Linked DNA regions of Homo sapiens: all the other regions are linked to region 1. Evidence: promoter capture Hi-C in human tissues and cell types (Jung and others, 2019). All regions are on one chromosome and are shown on one strand. The core of a region is centred on a gene start or on the middle of the fragment in contact, and the rest is flanking DNA. Distances in the headings are between cores, read along the strand shown.

Region 1 (4,289 bases), core at 1,790-4,289:
AGTGGGTTCCAGGCACAGACACAATAACCACTGCCATGCGGCAGCTCCAGAAGCCGGCCAGAGCATGCACTCTGCCTGCAAAGGGTGTGGGCTGACCATCATCTCATCCATAGGTGCTTCCTGGGCAGAAGAGCAGAATTTGATTAGGATGGTGGAAGTCTACAAAAAAGAAAGCATGGGAACCAGTCCCTGAAGAGGAGCTAGGAAGAAAGATGGCCCCCTGATCTGGGGAGGCAGCATTTTCTCTCCAGCTGCTCTTGTATGAATATACCTGTGCAGCACTGGGTTTGGGGGAGAAGGGACATTCAATAACACCTGAAAAGTACTGTCCCCTAGGAAGGGCAATCAGGACACAGGGAGATTCATCCTTAGATCCAGCTCTAGGTCTTGAAGAAAGAAAACAGTCCCCAAAATGATTCATTCATCCTTAAATAGTTCACTGAGGCAGAAATTGTTTCTCCTTTAGAGGAGAAAGATTAAGGTCAGAGAGACAGATACATTGGCTTAGGGTCACACAGTAAGTTGGTGCCAAAAAGATGCTGAGCCTCTTGTCTTTCAGTGTGCTATTTCTAGAGCCTCTGATTTTTTATGAGTCTACTGTAGGGCCAAGAAGGGGCTCTATTCTAATTTGGGGTGGTGCTAGCTTGGCCACCCACGTCTTCTGACCTTGAATGAAGCATTTTTACCAAGGTAAATGGGTCTGTGGAGCCAAACTCTCTCCTGGCTGAGATCTCTCAAAGTCGTTTGTCCGATAAAAGGGGGGTAGGGTGGAGGTAGGGGGTAGGGAAGCTCGAGAAAAAAAAAATGACCAGGAACACAAGTGTAACAGATGCACCCAGCTGTTGTCACTGGCGAGCACAGACAAGGGTGAGGTACCAATGGCTCCAAGGGAGACAGTCTCGGCAGATAAAGGAAGTCAGAGTGACGACCTAAAGTCCCTGAAATGCTAGTGCTGGCTCCGAGGATGTCACGTCACTGGCCTGGCACACTCAGTGAGCACAGAGACTTCACTGATACTTGCCCCTAAGTGGGGAGTCTCTTAGTACATCCCCCAGCACTGGTAGAGTGGTAAGGGATTTTCTTGTGTTTTTCCCTAACCTCCAGCTGAAGCAGAACCTAGACTATGGGAACTTGGGTTGACTGGTTAACTACTAATACTGCCCATACCCCAGCTATAGCAGCAGCCATCTGTGCTGAGGACTTCCCCCAGCGGCACTGTGGTTCAGTAGAAAGGTCACCAGACCAAGCCTGCTAACCAGCTGTTGGACCTTGGACAAAACATTTAACATCTCTGTGCTTTAGTTTTCTACATTTTATAGACATAAACACAGATGCTGGACAAGATGTCTTCTAAAATTTTTTTCCAGTTTTACAACTGAGCATTTGATAGGAGCACAAGTTTCATTTTCCCCAGGAGTAGGATGGCTGAGTGCGCTGTCATCACCACCCTATGGGATTTCTCTCATTTGTCCCAACAGGCCAGCACTTATGGGCTTTGTGTCTGCACCTCACCCCACGGGCCCTGTGAAACCTTTCCAGCAAATGGCTTAGATGTCTGTTCTGCTCCCTCCCCTAGGAAACATATTTTAGACTCAATTCTTCCCTCCTGCAAGTCTGAACTTTAGGTCTCCAGCTGAAGTGGGCAAGGATGGTGGGCTCCAGAAGCAGCAGCTCTGGTGTGGTAGGAGCCAGAAGAGGAGGTGAATGGGGGAAGGATGTCCCTATGTTCTCACACCCCAGGACCTCCAGGACTCTCTAGCCAGGAAACAGGGTCGAGCTGGCATTGCATGATCTGGTTCAGCTCAATTCTCAGCTTCAGCAGTCTTTCTGCCACCCCTGATCACACTGGGTTGGATTTGTGGGGGAGGGAGTCAAGGCCTGCAGACATGAACATACATGCTTAGGTCGGTCAAGTCAACAATGAACGGCAGAGTGGGATGGGAATCCAGGTGTCCGGAGTCCCAGCCCAATACTTTTTCCACCCCAAGCAGAAGATTCTGAAAGGACCCCTGGCCCTCCGGCCCAACACGGGGTCCTGTTTAAAGACACTGGTGATTGCCAGGCTCCAGGGGTGAAGTCTGGTCCTGAGAAGGGTGGCAGGGAGGGGACAAAGTTTGGGGCAGTGCTGGGATGGGAAAGACATCTGCACCTGGAGGCCATTCTTCCTAGACTTTGGGGGGGTGGAGGTGGGGGTAGATGAGGCCTGCAAAAGGAAGAGATGATGCCAGTAACCCATCCTCTCTGAGGTGGTGGAGAGAGAGGTTTGGGTTTTTCCTTCCTCTTCTTTCTTTGCCAGCCGGGCCTCCAGGCCCCCAGGCCTGAAAGTCAGCCGCCACCCCCGACCCCCATCATGAATGTGTCAGTGGGTCCGCCTTGGGCCAACAGGCTCCCTCAAACCCACATTTCTAGCCTAACACAGACCCTCCTCCGACGCCCCGAGAATACCCATCAGTCTTTACTGATTCCCTGGCATACCCTCCTCCCTACAACGCCCCCTGCAGACGCGGCGTCCCCGGGGTGTCCCTCCCCAGGATAAATTCCCCCAAAGTGCCGTCAGCCCAGAAAACTCGGCAGTGCGGCTCCCGCGCGTGGGGCACCCCGGGCCACCCTTCCACCCCGCGGGGGGACCCCGCCGCCCAGGTGCCCTCGACCCCGAGACTCACCCAGAAGAGCATGTTGAAGAAGAAGAGCAGGTATTTCACCAGCGGGCTGACGAAGGAGAACTCCTCCCCGGAGGCGGCCGGCGCCCGGGGTCTCCGCGCCATGGCCCCGCCGCCGCCACCGCCCCCGGGGGCCTATTTCCCAGCGGCTGCCGGCCGGCCTGTGTGCCCCGCGCCCGGGGGCATGAGCCGAGCCGCGCCGCGCAGGAGCCCGGCCGGCGGGGGAGCCTGCGCTGCGGCGGGAGGCGCCCGAGCCGGGGGGCCGGGAGCGGCGCGGGCCGGGGAACCGCGCCTGGAGCTGCTGGAGCCGCGGTGGGCAGCGCGAGCGGACGAGACTCACCCGCGGCCGCAGGACCAGCCCGGCCAGCCAGGCGCCCAGGAAACCCGGCCCGCCCCCGGCCGCTCATTGGCGCGACGGCTGGAGCCCGACTTCCCATTGGCTCGTGGCTGATGTCACTAAGTATCCAGCCATCCCTCTCCACCGAGAGTCGGGGGAGACACCTGTTCTGTGAGGGATAACTTGTTAAAGGGTCAGCGGTTCTGCCTCTCCCCTACCCCTAAGGGAAAGCATCCAGGCTGCAGCTGCTCAAAGGAACAAGAGTGAGGAGAAGGAATGCACAGTGCATCCCACACCCACGTCCTCCGCCCAGCTGCTGTGCACATATGCAAACACACATACATTAAAATCAACAAGTACGCACACCGTGTGTTGAGCAATGCGCCGAAAGCTCTGGGAACGCGGGAGAACAGAAACAATCCCTGGGGGATGACAATAAAATCAGGGAGACAAAACTAACCTACACATAACAATTAGACCAAGGGTAGATGCAATCTTGTTTAGTAACTATACATTTTAAATGCTTATTTCAGAAGCTCTACAACCCAACAGTGGAAATTTGGAAACATCACCGCCAATCCCGCCATCCTAATTCATTGCTGTCTCAATTCCCGCCCCCGCAGCCCCTCTTCCCTTGGTCTACTTGCAGACACCGTTTTTAACATGCTGATCCGGCACACACAGGTTGAGTGCAGCGTAGCTGGCGAATATATTATGCTGGCTACCCTAACTAATACAAGTTGAACCTCGGGGAGGGAATCTGATTCCACCATAATTAGCTGCGTGAAAGCTGCAAGCTACTTAATCTCTCGGAGCCTCAGTTTGTTTAATGTTAAATGGGAGAGTCCTGACCTAGATGGCGATTTGAGGATTAAATGAGATAATGCATGTAGCTCACTTAGCACATGGCTGGCACATGGAAGGCTCATCAAAGGCATTACAGTATTTCGTTTTAGCAGAATTAAGAATCCAGTGTGGAAATATGATAACCGCACAAATAATTATAATACGTTTGGTAGAAGGTTAGTGAAGATAGCGTGGCAAGTGAAATTAGGGGAGGATGGGATTTAGAATAGTAGAGACGGAGGGGAAACATAATCCAGGTGGATTAAAAAAAAAGGGGGTGAACCAAAGCCTGGAGGTGCAAAAGCACGCCATGTGTTTCGTGCAAAATAAGCAGACTGCTGTGGCTGGAGCACAGGGTATGCTTGGAATAGCAGTGGGACATAATGCTGACCGATGCCGTTACATGTGGAATTGTGTTAAAACTGCGGAAGTAATTGAATATCAGA
Region 2 (4,764 bases), core at 242-2,741, 170 kb after region 1:
GCCCAAAGGGATTTTCTTCAATCTTGGCCACAGTTAGTTGTCCACAGAAGTCTCTTGTCAAAAAATAAATTTGACTCTTTTAGTCATTAAGATTGATATGTAATTATGATGGTATGACTCACTAAATGATGTTCTCTAAAATCATATTCTCATCTAGAACTGTATGAGATGCCTATGCTTAAGTCACTAAGTAATTGTGTTGATGTTAACCTTAGAGCAGGGCCAGGATGCCAGTGCCTAGGGCACAAGATTTAGGGACACAAGGCAAAGTGCCAATCCTGCATTTGCAGGACTCTGAGGTGCTTTCTGAAATTTTGTACCCATGCTGTGAGGAAAACAGTCACAGAGCTCCAGGCTAGAGTCATACCCCACCCAACCTGAAGTGACCATGCTCCACCTAGGGAGAGGAGAGCACCTAGGGTGCAGATTTTAAGGAGGTCCTGGCCTTAAGAATGAGTTCCCCCTGGCCAGGTGCAGTGCCTCACGCCTGTAATCCCAGCACTTTGGGAGGCCGAGGTGGGTGGATCACGAGGTCAGGAGTTCAAGACCAGCCTGGCCAAGATGGTGAAACCCCATCTCTACTAAAAATACAAAAAATTAGCCAGGCGCAGTGGCAGGCGCCTGTAGTCCCAGCTATTCATGAGGCTGAGGAAGGAGAATCATTTGAACCCGGAGGGTGGAGGTTGCAGTGAGCTGAGATCGTGCCACTGCACTCCAGCCTGGGTGACAGAGTGAAACTCCATCTCAAAAAAAAAAAAAAAGAAAAAAGAAAAAAAGAATGAGTTCCCCCTTAAATTCTGCATCATAGGTGCCCTCAACCACAGGCACAGGCATGCTGGTGCGGTGTTGGTACTTGGATAACCTTGCCTCTCTAAATTATAGATTTGATTAAAGATTGTACAGGTAAATATTTCAACAGAATTTTAATTTTTAGTGATTTCTCTACTTTCACTATATGCTGAGCACAATAATGTATGTTCGCATTTAGGCGATTGCCACCTCTGGTCAAGTGTCCCCTTCAGTGCAATACATTCTGGGTCTACTACAACTTGATAGACTGCCCCTTTGCTGTTGGAGGATACCCTCATGACTTTGATACTGTTTTTTAATTCCTGCCAGTTAAGTATATGACTAACCCAATAGAGTAGGTAGCACTATTATATAGGAAGTGTGTTCTAGAGTCAGTACATGTGACAAAAATGAAAATTATCCTTAAAAAATCCCTTAACTCAGGAGCCAGCAATTGATAGTCAGTGGCCTTGCCACCTATTTTTGTTTTTGTGTTTTTTTTAATGTTTTACTGAGCTATAGCCATAATTCATTTACGTATTATCTATTGGTCATTTTTGTGCTACACTGGCAAACTTGAGTGGGCAGAAGACTGAATGGTGGATAAGATCTATACTTTTTACAAAGTAGCCCTTTAAGAAAATGTTTGGCAACCCTTGACTTAATCATTCCTTAGTAGAGCATATAATTTTGAGTTTACAACATGGAATGGATTCATAGCTCCCATCTCATGCTCATTCCATGGCATATGCCAACAGAAGAATTAAGTTACTGTATCCTTTCAGTCCCAAGTTCATAGAGTTGAATTTATGTAATAAGATCAATACATATGTACTGTGGTGGCATTTTAAATAGGTGAGTGTACAATTGTTTCTTAATTCTGGGAGGATAGTGGAGTAAAAATTCTAAACAAATCATTTAAGCGCATATCGTGGCCGGGCATGGTGGTGCACACCTATAGTCCCAGCTGCTCGGGAGGCTGAGGTGGGAGGATCCCTTGAGCCTGGTAGGTTGAGGCCACAGTGAGCCAAGATCTCACCACTGCACTCCAGCCTGGGCAACAGAGCGAAACCCAGTCTCTTAAAAAAAAAATAATAATGTGCATATTGTGTTAAAATTTTTGCTGTGTTGAAATCCAAATATCTTCGTAGAAAACACTATTTTTTACTTAAAAGATAAAATAGGTTTAGGAGCAACTCAAAATTTAAACAATGCTTTCACTGTCTTCTCCAAGATGAAGGTGTTTGATACTGTTTTCCCAACTGTGGCTATATATCCTATTTAAAAGTATGACTTATCTACAGTGCAAATGAGAGCAACTTTTACGTACTGGATGAAATATTCTGTGCTGGGGTTTTGCAAATAATCCATGAGTTCCCTGATAGCTTCTAGCTTTAACTCTTATACAGCATTGTCTTGGGAAGATGAAAGGTCAAAGGGTTGGAAGAATAGAGAACCTGAAAATCATTGAGATATTGAGCCCTGTGTTTCACAAAATAGTGCTAAGAAGCTTTATACTATGTTGCCTTAAAGAGAAGAAGCCAATCTATCTCTGAATTTCTTCCTGGAGACAGCTTCGTAAGTTGGTACTTTTTGAAGGACGAAGCATTGAACTAATTGTTTTTTCCCTCAACAGATGGTGAATGTGTACCACGTACATCAGCATTCCTGCTTCCTGTACCTTGGCAGTATCCTTGTGGATGAATATGGCATGGAAGAAGGCTGTCGGCAGGGACTGCTAGACATGCTCCAGGTATCTTTTCCATGAGGAGTGTAGACGCATCAGGCCTAGAGGGTCTGAAGGCCTAGCAGCGTATTCTTTACCATGTCTTTAATTCTGTTGCTTCTTTATGTTTTCCCCCAGGCATGTTGATTTCCTAATAACAGGGAGGTGGAAGCTTCCCAGTTGTTCTCTGAACAGGCCTGTTTGAGAGAATGAGAGACTGACCACATGAGTGTAATGATTATTACATGTTACTGCCTGGTTTATGCTCTTCCAGAGATAGGGTGTTTGGAGGGGGGAGGAGGTGAGAAAAATGAATCTCTAAGCTCAAGCATTATTGTATTTTTAACTTCTTGCCTGGAACAGCCAACTGACTAGTTTACTTAGCAGCAGGGAGGGTTTTAGAATTAATAATAGCATTGGAAACAGCTCCTCAGATACTGCTTTTCCCTCCCTTCCAGCCACAGAGGGGAATATTGAGTTGAAGAATGTTGTTTCTTTTCCCAAGATGTCTTTTCATTTAAAATTGATATTTCATAATTATTATAAAAACTTCCACTCCCTTAGTGGACTATACCTAAATAGAATCTTTGCTTTCAGAAATTTCTAAAACTTTGAGATGACATCTGTTGAGTTTTATCAGCTAAAATCTGTTTTCTCAACCCTTTCTTAAATGTGGACTTCATAGGTGAAAACTGTTTATGTCAACTGGGAAGGATTTATGTGTTTCTTTTCCTGATCAGATTCTCATTACAATCTTTTTCTTTTCCCAGCTGTGCTTTTCTTCTTTGTTCCTTTTGTACTTATTGTAATAAATATTTGGCAAGTCTGAATGCTGTGGCATTTCTGAAAAAGCATTTCTTTTAAAATCACTGTTTTGTTTTAGGCACTGTGCATCCCCACCTTTCAGCTCCTAGAACAGCAGAATGGTCTCCAGAATCACCCTGACACTGTAGATGACCTGTTCCGGCTAGCCACCAGGTAAATCCTTCTGAAGAGCCCATTTCTTAATTGCTCATCCTATCACTGCTTAGTCTTGCCATCTGACCCTTGGTTGTTTTATTCTTGTAAAATGAAGTCACTGGAGTAAGTAGATTAATGATTCATAACCCAAAGGTAAATTGCAAGCTGATATATCCCCAGCAGTGACGCAGAGTATTGCGGGAAGCAAGGGATAAAGGAGCTGAGTTCCTGCCAGGAAGGAGGGCTCACACACAAGACAATGCAGTGTGCCTGGCAAAACACTTGACTAGATCATCTCTACAGTCCTCTGTAGGTTTTAACTGTTCGTGCTGTTGCGATTTCATGTTTCACCTCAACCTTCTCTTTGAGAAGCTTAGCATCCTTTAGATATAATCAGTTTCGGAATAAAGAATGTTTGGGATTTTAAGATGCCTTAGCAGTTATCTCATACTGTATTTCTCAGCTCTACTCACAGCCTACTTTATCAGTAGCACTGATAATATGATTGCCAAACTTCTGCTTGAATTCCTTAGTCCCTAACTAAGGAATTTGAACCAAAACTGTTACCATATCAGCATTAAAAAAAAAAAAAAAAGAAAAATCATTATTTTCGAAACAACAAAAGCCCAACTGTTATATCATTTACAAATGCAAAGTAATGTTGACTTGATTGTTTCATCTTAGGATTGATTTTTTTTCTTTTTTCTTTTTTGAGATGGACTCTCACTCTGTTGCCCAGGCTGGAGTGCAATGGCATGATCTCGGCTCACTGCAACCTCTGCCTCCTGGGTTCAAGTGATTCTCCTACCTCAGCCTCCCGAGTAGTTGGGATTACAGGTGCCCACCACCATGCCCAGCTAATTTTTGTATTTTTAGTAGAGACGGGGTTTTGCCATGTTGATCAGGCTGGTCTCAAACTCCTGGCCTCAGGTGATCCGCCCACCTTGGCCTCCCAAAGTCCTGGGATTACAGGCGTGAGCCACCGTACCTGGCAGGATTGAATATTGAACCCTTTTTTTTTGTTAGTTTTTGGATAGGTTAGAAAAACCCTTTTTTTTTCCTTTTCTTTTTTTTTTTTTTTCAGTTGATAGAATTGTTGGATGGGCTGTCACCCTCTGTTTTCTTTTTTTTTTTTTTTTTTTTTTTTTTTGAGACGGAGTCTCGCTCTGTCGCCCAGGCTGGAGTGCAGTGGCGTGATCTTGGCTCACTGCAAGCTCTGCCTCCTGGGTTCACGCCATTCTCCTGCCTCAGCCTCCCGAGTAGCTGGGACTACAGGCACCCGCCACCAC
Region 3 (4,561 bases), core at 582-3,081, 130 kb after region 1:
GATTGTGTATTTTCTGGCTATAAATAACATATCTCCACTTTTTTCTTTTGCAGATACAGCAATGATGTGACTTCTTTGCCTTTTTTGCTGGAGATCCTTACAGTGTTACCTGAAGAAGTACATAGTCGTTCCTTACGAATTGGAGCTAATCGGCGCACAGAAATTATAGAAGATTTGGCCTTCTACTCTAGTACAGTAGTATCTCTATTGGTGAGTAAGTTTGAAATACTAAGTTGCTGCATAAAGGCAGAAAGCCATGGCGGTTATTTTGTAATCAATTGCATTATTGTGAAATAGCTTTCTTTGCAAAATTTAATGATGATGCTTTGGTATTTATGTAACACCTTACCATGACAACATACTTTCAGAAACTATGCTTTTTAAGTTTCTGTATAATCCTCTAAAGGTGACGTTATCTCTTTTATGAATGAAAAATGGACTTTAGAGTTACACAACTGTTAATTCAGAATTGGAACTAAGGCCATCTCATTATTTATCTTGTGCTCTTCTACTGCTTAATGCTCCAAACTGTTGGCTGTTAATAAAGGATCATGCAAAGGGAAGTGTGTATAAATCTACTTTACTAAGAAAGGATCCTTTCTTTTTTTTTCTAATTGATACATGATAGTTGTACATATTTATGGGGTTACATGTATTACTTTTATTTTTTGAAGCAGGGTCTCTGTCTCCTAGGCTGTAGTGCAGTGGCATGATCTCAGCTTACTGCACCCTCCTCCTCCTGGGCTCAAGTGATCCTCTCACCTCAGCCTCCTGAGTAGCTGGGACTACAGGTGTGCGCCACCATGCCCAGCTAAATTTTTTATTTTTTGTAGAGATGGTGTCTCTCCATGTTGCCTAGGCTGGCCTCGAACTCCTGACCTCAAGTGATCCACCTGCCTTGGCCTCCCGAAGTGCTGGGATTACAGGCGTGAGCCACTGTGCCCAGTGACATGTATTATTTTTGTCCAAGTATGTAATATGTGATGATCAGATCAAATCAGGTGATGATCAAATTGAGATATCCATCACCTCAAACCTTTATCATTTCTTTGTGTAGGGAACATTCTAAATCTTCTCTTTCAGCTATTTTGAAGTACTCAATAAATTATTAACTATAGTCACTCTGTTTTGCTGTGTAACACTATAACGTATCCTTTCTATTCAGCTGTATTTGTGTACCCGTTAATCAACCTTTCTTGGTCGTCCCCTCCCCGTTACCCTTCCTAGCCTCTGATCACCGTCATTCTACTCTTTACCTCTATGAGATCCATTTTTTTTCACTCCAACATAGCAGTGAAAGCATGTGATATTTGTCTTTCTGTGCCTGGCTTACTTCACTTAACATAATGTCTAACAGTGCCGTCCATGTTGCTGCAAATGACAGGAGATTTTATTCTTTTTGTGGCTAACGAATATTTCATTGTGCACCTATACCATTGTTTCTTTATCCATTCAGCCGTTGATAGGTACTTAGGTTGATTCCATATCTTGGCTATTGTGAATAGTGCTGCAATAAACATGGGATTGTAGAGATCTTCTTGATATACTGGTTTCTTTTCTGGGTATTTACCCAGCAGTGGGATTGCTAGATCGTATGGTAGTACTATTTTCAGTCTGTTGAGAAACTTCCGTACTGTTTTTCATAATGACTGTACTGCTTTACATTCCAGAGCGTTCCCTTTTCTCTGCATCCTTGCCAGCATTTGCTATTGATCTTTTGCCCATTTTTTAATTTTTAATTTTTTTTTTTTTTTGCTATTATTTGGGTTTCTTATATATTGTGGTTACTAATCTCTTGTTGGATGGGTAGTTTGCAAATATTTCCTCCCATTCTGTAGGTTGTCTCTTTACTTGGTTGATTGTTTCTTTTGCTGTGCAGAAGCCTTTTAGCTTGACCTTTGTCGACTTTTTTTGCTTTAGTTGCCTTTGATTTTGAGGTCTTACTTAAGAGATCTTTGCCCAGATCAATGTCCTGCAGCATTTCCCTAATGTTTGCTTGTAGTAGTTTTATAGTTCACATCTTACATTTAAGTCTTTAATCCATTTTGATTTGATTTTTGTATATTATGAGAGATAAAAGAAAGGATTGTCTCTTAAAGATGAACTGAAAGGTGATAGAAGATTTTACTTGACCTTTGAGGAGTATCGCATTATGGATGAGCTAATACACATTTTTTAAAAAATTAGATGTGATTAAGCTCCTTTCAGTTAGTTGACATTTTTAATACTCTAGAGCAGGAGTGTGTAAATCTATAGTTTATGGGTTGGCTGCCTCTTTTTGTAAATAAAGCTTTGTTGGAACACAGTTATGCCCATTTGGTTATATTTTGTCCATTATTTTGGTCTACATCAGCATAATTGAGTATTTTTCAGAGACCATATGGCTTGCAAAGTGTAGACGGTTTATCTGGTTCTTTATAGAAAATGTTTACTGGTTCCTAAAGTAGATGCTAATAAATTGATTAGCCCATATCTCATTTTTAAGTCTTTATAGTCCAGCTTAATTTTCTCAATAATGTGGATACAGGTTGAATATCCCTTACTGAAAGGCTTGGGACCAGAAGGGTTTAGGGTAGGGTAAAAAAAGTAGTATTTAGGATTTCTGAGTTTTTAAAATTTTGGAATATTTGCATTATACTTTGTGGTTCAGCATTCCTAATCTGAAATGCTCCAGTGAGCATTCCCTTTGAGCGTTATGTTGGCACTCAAAAAGTTTTGGATTTTGGAGCATTTTGGAGTTTTGGATTAGGGATACTTAACCTGTAGTAAATTATTTTTCAGAGATGTGTTTCAGTATAGCAAGTTCATAGATCTTTTAGTTTGAAAAAAAATTAAAATTCTATTAAAAATTGTGTTCAGTTTTGTATTAGAAATTCATTGGAGGGCTGGGTGCAGTGGCTCACCCCTGTAATCCCAGCACTTTGGGAGGCTGAGGCGGGTGGATTACTTGAGGTCAGGAGTTTGAGACCAGCCTGGCCAACATAGTGAAACCCTGTCTGTACTAAAAATACAAAAATTAGCCAGGTATGGTGGTGCACTCCTGTAGTCCCAGCTAGTCGGGAGGCTGAGGCAGGAGAATCTCTTGAACCTGGGAGGCGGAGGTTGCAGTGAGCCAAGATTGCACCACTGCACTCCAGTCTGGGCAACAGAGGGAGACTCCATCTCAAAAAAAAAAAAAAAAAAAAGAAAGAAAAAGAAAAAAGAAATTCATTGAAAAATAATTCTTTTAAGTTAAATATATGTTTTTCACTTAGCCATTTATTTTAAAGAAATAGTTTTATGGAAAATTAGAAAATATGTACAGCAAATTTCACTCAAACCATCTGGAGATCATACAGTTAACCCTTTAATACATATCCTCTATGAACATATTTATGGATATATATACAGATTTTTTAAGCCCAAATGAAGTTATACTTTACTTATTCTTCTGCATCTTGCTTTTTCAGTCATCTGCTTACCTTTTCAAGTTAGTAAGTTTTCATATCATCTGATAAACCCAGACCATATTCACATTTCACCAGTTGGTCCTAAGATATTCTTTACAGGCTGGGCGTGGTGGCTCATGCCTGTAATCCCAGCACTTTGGGAGGCCAAGGCTGGCAGATCACAAGGTCAGGAGCTCGAGACCATCCTGGCCAACATGGTGAAACCCCGTCTCTACTAAAAACACAAAAATTAGCTGGGCGTGGTGGCATGCAGCTGTAGTCCCAGCTACTCGGGAGGCCAAGGCAGGAGAATTGCTTGAACCCGGGAGGCAGAGGTTGCAGTGGGCCGAGATGGCACCACTGCACTCCAGCCTGAGCGACAGAGTGAGACTCCATCTCAACAAAAAGAAAAAACAAAAAAAGATACTTTTTACAAAGAATATCCAATCTGTAACTATGCCTTGTATCAGGTTCTTAGTCACAGTCCCACATTCTGTTCCTTGTTTAAAATAACATGACTTGTTGAAGAGATTGTACCAGTCATTTTATAGAATTATCTTACCTTTATGATTTTCTGATTGCCTCTCCTTCGTTTCCTTTAGCATGTTTTTCTTTTCTCTGTATTTCCTCTAATTGGAAGTTGTATCTAAAACAGCCCTTCTCAGTAGGGGTTCCTCAAGAGAATTAAGCCTAAAGCTATTCGTTATATGTAATGAATTCTTTCCTCTACATTAATAATGGTTCTAGCTATATACCGCCCTTAGGATAATTAAGAAGATGGGCACTCAGATAATTTTCTGAAGGGCTTAATTCTATACAATTTTTTTTTTTTGTAGATATAGAGCTTCTCTATGGTCTCAAACCTGGTCTCAAGTGATCCTCTCTCCTTGGCCTCCCTTAATGATGAGATTACAAACGTGAACCACCACACCCAACCTATAGGATATAATTCTTTCCTAGAATCCTGATTGAGAAAAACTGAGAGGCTTAGAGGATTAGTTTTTTAAAGTTAAATATTTTGGGCTAGAATATATCATAGGTACTTGATGCTATGTCTTAGTATATATACAGCGTTCAGTTGACCTTCTATTAGTGATGCTAGGGTTGACCACTGGATTAAGATGAAAGTCTGT
Region 4 (4,601 bases), core at 794-3,293, 140 kb before region 1:
GCCTCAGCCTCCCAAAGTGCTGGGATTACAGGCGTGAGCCACCACGCCCGGCCACATTCACTTTTTAAAAAACATGTTTTTCTTTCACCTGCAACCATATTATTTTTTACTGTTATACTGCACTTTCTTCAGCTCACACAGGAAAGTAATACTGGACTTTGCTCCTCTGTCATGCCTCCAAAACTTTTTTTTTTTTTTTTTGAGACAGAGTCTCACTCTGTCGCCCAGGCTGGAGTGCAGTGGCGCAATCTCAGCTCACTGCAAGCTCCGCCTCCCGGGTTCATACCATTCTCCTGCCTCAGCCTCCCGAGTAGCTGGGACTAAAGGCACCCACCACCACTCCCGGCTAATTTTTGTATTTTTAGTAGAGACAGGGTTTCACCATGTTGGCCAGAATGGTCTCATCTCCTGACCTCGTGATCCGCCCGCCTTGGCCTCCCAAAGTGCTGGGATTACAGGCATGAGCCACCGTGCCCAGCCACTAGCTCTTATTTTTAAATGCTGCTCAGAATATCAACTCATTCATTTGACATTTATTGAAAGCCACGCACTAGGCACCATGGACAGAAAGATGTCTAAGACACGTCCTCATCATCAAGCTGAGTTTATTAGAAGAAATATATATGCCACTGGGCATGGTGCCTGTAATCCTAGTACTTTGGGAGGCCGAGGCGGGAGGATCACCTGAGGTCAAGAGTTCGAGACCAGCCTGACCAACATGGAGAAACCCCATCTCTACTAAAAATACAAAATTAGTTGGGCGAGGTGGTGCATGGCTGTAATCCCAGCTACTCAGGAGACTGAGGCAGGAGAATCACTTGAACCCTAGAGGCGGAGGTTGCAGTTAGCTGAGATTGCACCACTGCACTCCAGCCTGGGCAACAGAGCAAGACTCCGTCTCAAAAAAAAAAAGAAAGAAAGAAGAAATATATCAGTAAAATCACTAGAAAAGGAAAAAAATGCAATGAATTGAAACATATTCAAAAATGTTTAAACCCAAGAGTTTATGATACCAAAAAAACCCCCACCAAAACCAATGCCTAATTGGAGAATGCTAGTGAACCAATACAGTATTCTGAAAATTGGTAAACAAGGGGAAAGAACAAAATATTCATCCTGACTTTCCAATATGTATTATACCACTGGGTAAATCGAAGATTAGAAAAGGGGAGGTTTCTCTTTATAGAAGTATTCCAGCTAATAAATGAAAGAATAATAGAACTAGAATATCATCATTGTATAGCTCTTAATGATTTAATGGATCTAAGTAAAAATCATCAATAGTTACTAACATCACACAAAAAGAGACAGGTTGGACGAGGTGGCTTGCGCCCGCAATCTCAACACTCGGAGAGGCCAAGGCAAGAGGACTGCTTGAACCCAGGAGTTCAAGACGAGCCTAGGCAACATAGTGAGATCCCATCTCTACAAAAAAAATTTAAAAATTAGCTAGGCATTGTGGCACACACCTGTGCTCCTAGCTATTAGGCAGGCTGAGGCAGGAGGATCACTTGAGCCCAGGAGGTTGAGGCTGCAGTGAGCTGTAATTGTGCCACTGCACTCCAGCCTGGGTGACACAGCAAGACCCTGACTCAAAAAAGTAAAATAAAAATTAAAATAGGCCCGTTGTGGTGGCTTATACCTGTAATCCCAGCACTTTGGAAGACGAAGGCTGGCAGATGGCTTGAGCCCAGGAGTTCAGGACCAGCCTGGGCAACACGGTAAAACTCTATCTCTACAAAATAAACAAACAAACAAACAAAAATTAGCCAGGCGTGGTGGTGCATGCCTGCAGTCGCAGCTACTCAGGAAGCTGAGGTGGGAAGATCAATTGAGCCCAGGAGGTTGAAGCTGCAGTGAGCTATGATCATGCTACTGCACCTCCAGCCTGGGTGACAGAACAAGGCCTTGTCTCAAAAATAATAATAATAAATAGATAAAATTTTAAAACAAAAAAGACATGCAGACATTTATGTACCTTCTGATGGAAGTACTTAACACCACTCATGAAGAAGTCTGAGCACTCTTCTAAATAGAAGTACTGCCAGGCGCAGTGGCTCACGCCTGTAATCCCAGCACTTTGGGAGGCTGAGGCAGGCAGATCACTTGAGGTCAGGAGTTCGAGACCAGCCTGGCCAATATGATGAGACCCTGTCTCTACTAAAAACACAAGAATTAGCCAGGCGTGGTGGCGGGCCTCTGTAATCCCAGCTATTCAGGAGGCTGAGGAGGAGAATCGCTTGAACCCAGAAGGTGGAGGGTGCAGTGAGCCGAGATCACGCCACTGCACTCCAGCCTGAGTGATGCGAGACTCTGTCTCAATAAAATAAAATAAAATTAAATTAAAATAAATACAAATACAAATTTACAGGAGTTGCAGAAGACAAAGGAACACGTTAAAAGACACCACAGAGATGTAATCAGCAAAATTCAGACTCAGGGAAATTCTGCCAACACAAATGACTTGATTTCTACAACAAAAAACTGCAAAACAAAAAGCAGGGGAGAAGAGAGGACTAATGTTAAGAGACAAATCAATAAACTGCACTATATGATACTCATTTGTATCCTGATTCAAACATACTGAAAAAATATACATTTATGAATAACACAATGAGGGAAATGTGAACATTGGGTTTTTATGCTATTAAAAATTATTGCTAATTTTTTAGCATGATAATGGAATTGAAGTTATTTAAGGTCTTTATCTTTAGAGATATAGTGATATGTTTACAGGTGAAGCTATAAAATTCTTCAATTTGCATCCAATAATCCAGGGAGTGGATGGTGTGGACAGGGCTATATGTGAAACAAGTGGCCATGAATTCACAATTGTTGAAGGTGAGTAATGGAGTACATGATCGACATTTTCCATTATAAAAAACATTCAAAAGAAACAGTAAACATCAAAATGACGTGGGGAGAAGGAGCTCTACATAAAGAACTTAGCCTGTGTATCACAAGTACTAATTATAATCACTAAAAAGCTTAAGGGTTGGATTAGATGACCTCTCAGCATCTGACTTTCAAATCCAATAGTCTAAAATTCGATGACCAGATTATCTTTAAAGGTCATTTTTAATCTCTAAAATTCCTTGGTTTTTCTTTCCCAGAGAGCTGCCTTAACTTTCCTCTCCCACTGGTTAGCAATAGCCTACAAAAACACTGAACAACAACTACTTTTAAAAAGCACATTAAACTGAGACTTACTCCCGGTACAGTGCTTGGAGTTTTCAGCTATACCACCCACTTCAATTCTGGAGTCTGGATGTTATACTGCTTAATTAGGCTAAACAGCCAGTACTGATTAAACACAAGGAAAAATCTGCTGTAGAAGTAATGGTGATAACTCTTGTGTTTCTCTTTTCTCACACATAAACAGTTTGGGAACAGTGGTCTCAAAATATGGTCCAGAAACTACTTGAGGTATCCCTGGAGGGGGTGCTTGAGGTTAAAAGTATTTTCATGATAACCCTAAGATTATATTTGTTCTTTTTACTCTTATTATTTTATAAGTGTACAGTGGAGTTTTCCAGAGGATACAAGATGTGTGGCAACACATCAGATAAGGCAAAAGCAGATACGAGAATCCAACAGTTTTTTATGAATTTGGCCATCAAAGAGATGGCAGGAATATAAAACAATGCTTTTCTTCCCATTAAATGTCTTTGTTTTAGAAAATGTAGTTACTTTTCATGAAAATATTATTTATGTTAACATATAGTGGGATTATTATTTTCAATTTATTAATATTTAAATATTATTAAATGTCTCCATTTAAAATAAATAACACATGGCGGGTTTATAGCTATTTTAAATCAATCAATCAATCAATATTTTTAAATTATCAGGTTTAATTCCTAACATTGTAAGTATTGATATAGATATAACCCACAGAGACAAAAACTCTTTGGGATCCTTAATTTTTAAGAGTGTAAAGGAGCTGGAAGTGGTGGCTCACCCCTGTAATCCCAGCACTCTGGGAGGCCAAGGCAGGTGGATCACTTGAGGTCAGGAGTTGGAGACCAGGCTGGCCAACATGGTGAAACCCATCTCTACTAAAAATACAAACAATTAGCCAGGCACACTGGCATGTGCCTGTGGTCCCAGCTACTCGGGAGGCTGAGGCAGGAGGATCACTTGAGCCCAGGAGGTGGAGGTTGTAGTGAGCTAAGCGCATGCCACTGCACTCCAGCCTGGGTGATGAGAGTGAAACCCTGTCTCAAAACAAAACAAAACAAACAAACAAACAAAAAAACTAACTCCCCTCCTCTCATATTTATATTTGTCTTTGAAAACCAGGTAAAGGTAAAAAAGCAAAAGGCCAAGGCAAGTCTCATGGAGAGAAGCTTGAAACCGGGAGGCAGAGGTTGCAGTGAGCTGAGATTGCGCCACTGCACTCCAGCCTGGGCAACAGAGCAAGACTCCATCTCACACAAAAAAATAAAAAATAAAGAGTGTAAAGGGCCCCGAGACAAAAAAGTTTGAGAACTACTGCTCTAAAACACCTATAATTCTAATTAATGCTCACATTACCATTTCATTTTATATTGTGTAGCCTCAATTCTTTCATTTTCACCCTCCAAAGAAAGACACTGTGA

Evidence for each region. Contacts are between HindIII fragments. The study calls those that stand out against the background at their distance.
Region 2: a fragment that was not itself captured here is called in contact with the fragment with the promoter of TSPAN33 in region 1 in 2 of the 25 tissues and cell types used here (bladder and lymphoblastoid cells).
Region 3: a contact is called between a fragment that was not itself captured here and the fragment with the promoter of TSPAN33 in region 1, in 1 of the 25 tissues and cell types used here (lymphoblastoid cells).
Region 4: a fragment that was not itself captured here is called in contact with the fragment with the promoter of TSPAN33 in region 1 in 1 of the 25 tissues and cell types used here (mesenchymal stem cells).

What each region holds. Positions count from the first base shown.
Region 1 is chr7:129,143,457-129,147,745 of GRCh38, reverse strand. It overlaps TSPAN33 (tetraspanin 33), which reads right to left and starts at 3,039. Exons shown (of 8, transcript NM_178562.5): 1 at 2,664-3,039. The coding sequence starts at 2,765. RefSeq lists an enhancer at 5-54 and a silencer at 2,917-3,126. The HindIII fragment of the contact is 23,252 bases long and covers 1-4,289 here.
Region 2 is chr7:128,973,597-128,978,360 of GRCh38, reverse strand. TNPO3 (transportin 3) reads left to right here. Exons shown (of 23, transcript NM_012470.4): 17 at 2,426-2,542; 18 at 3,399-3,493. Among named protein-coding and RNA genes, the nearest start is that of IRF5, 38 kb to the right of the region's middle. The HindIII fragment of the contact is 5,983 bases long and covers 1-4,482 here.
Region 3 is chr7:129,010,628-129,015,188 of GRCh38, reverse strand. TNPO3 (transportin 3) reads left to right here. Exons shown (of 23, transcript NM_012470.4): 4 at 54-210. Among named protein-coding and RNA genes, the nearest start is that of TNPO3, 42 kb to the left of the region's middle. The HindIII fragment of the contact is 4,735 bases long and covers 1-4,198 here.
Region 4 is chr7:129,286,101-129,290,701 of GRCh38, reverse strand. All of the region lies in intron 1 of AHCYL2 (adenosylhomocysteinase like 2), which reads right to left. Among named protein-coding and RNA genes, the nearest start is that of AHCYL2, 63 kb to the right of the region's middle. The HindIII fragment of the contact is 6,345 bases long and covers 1-4,601 here.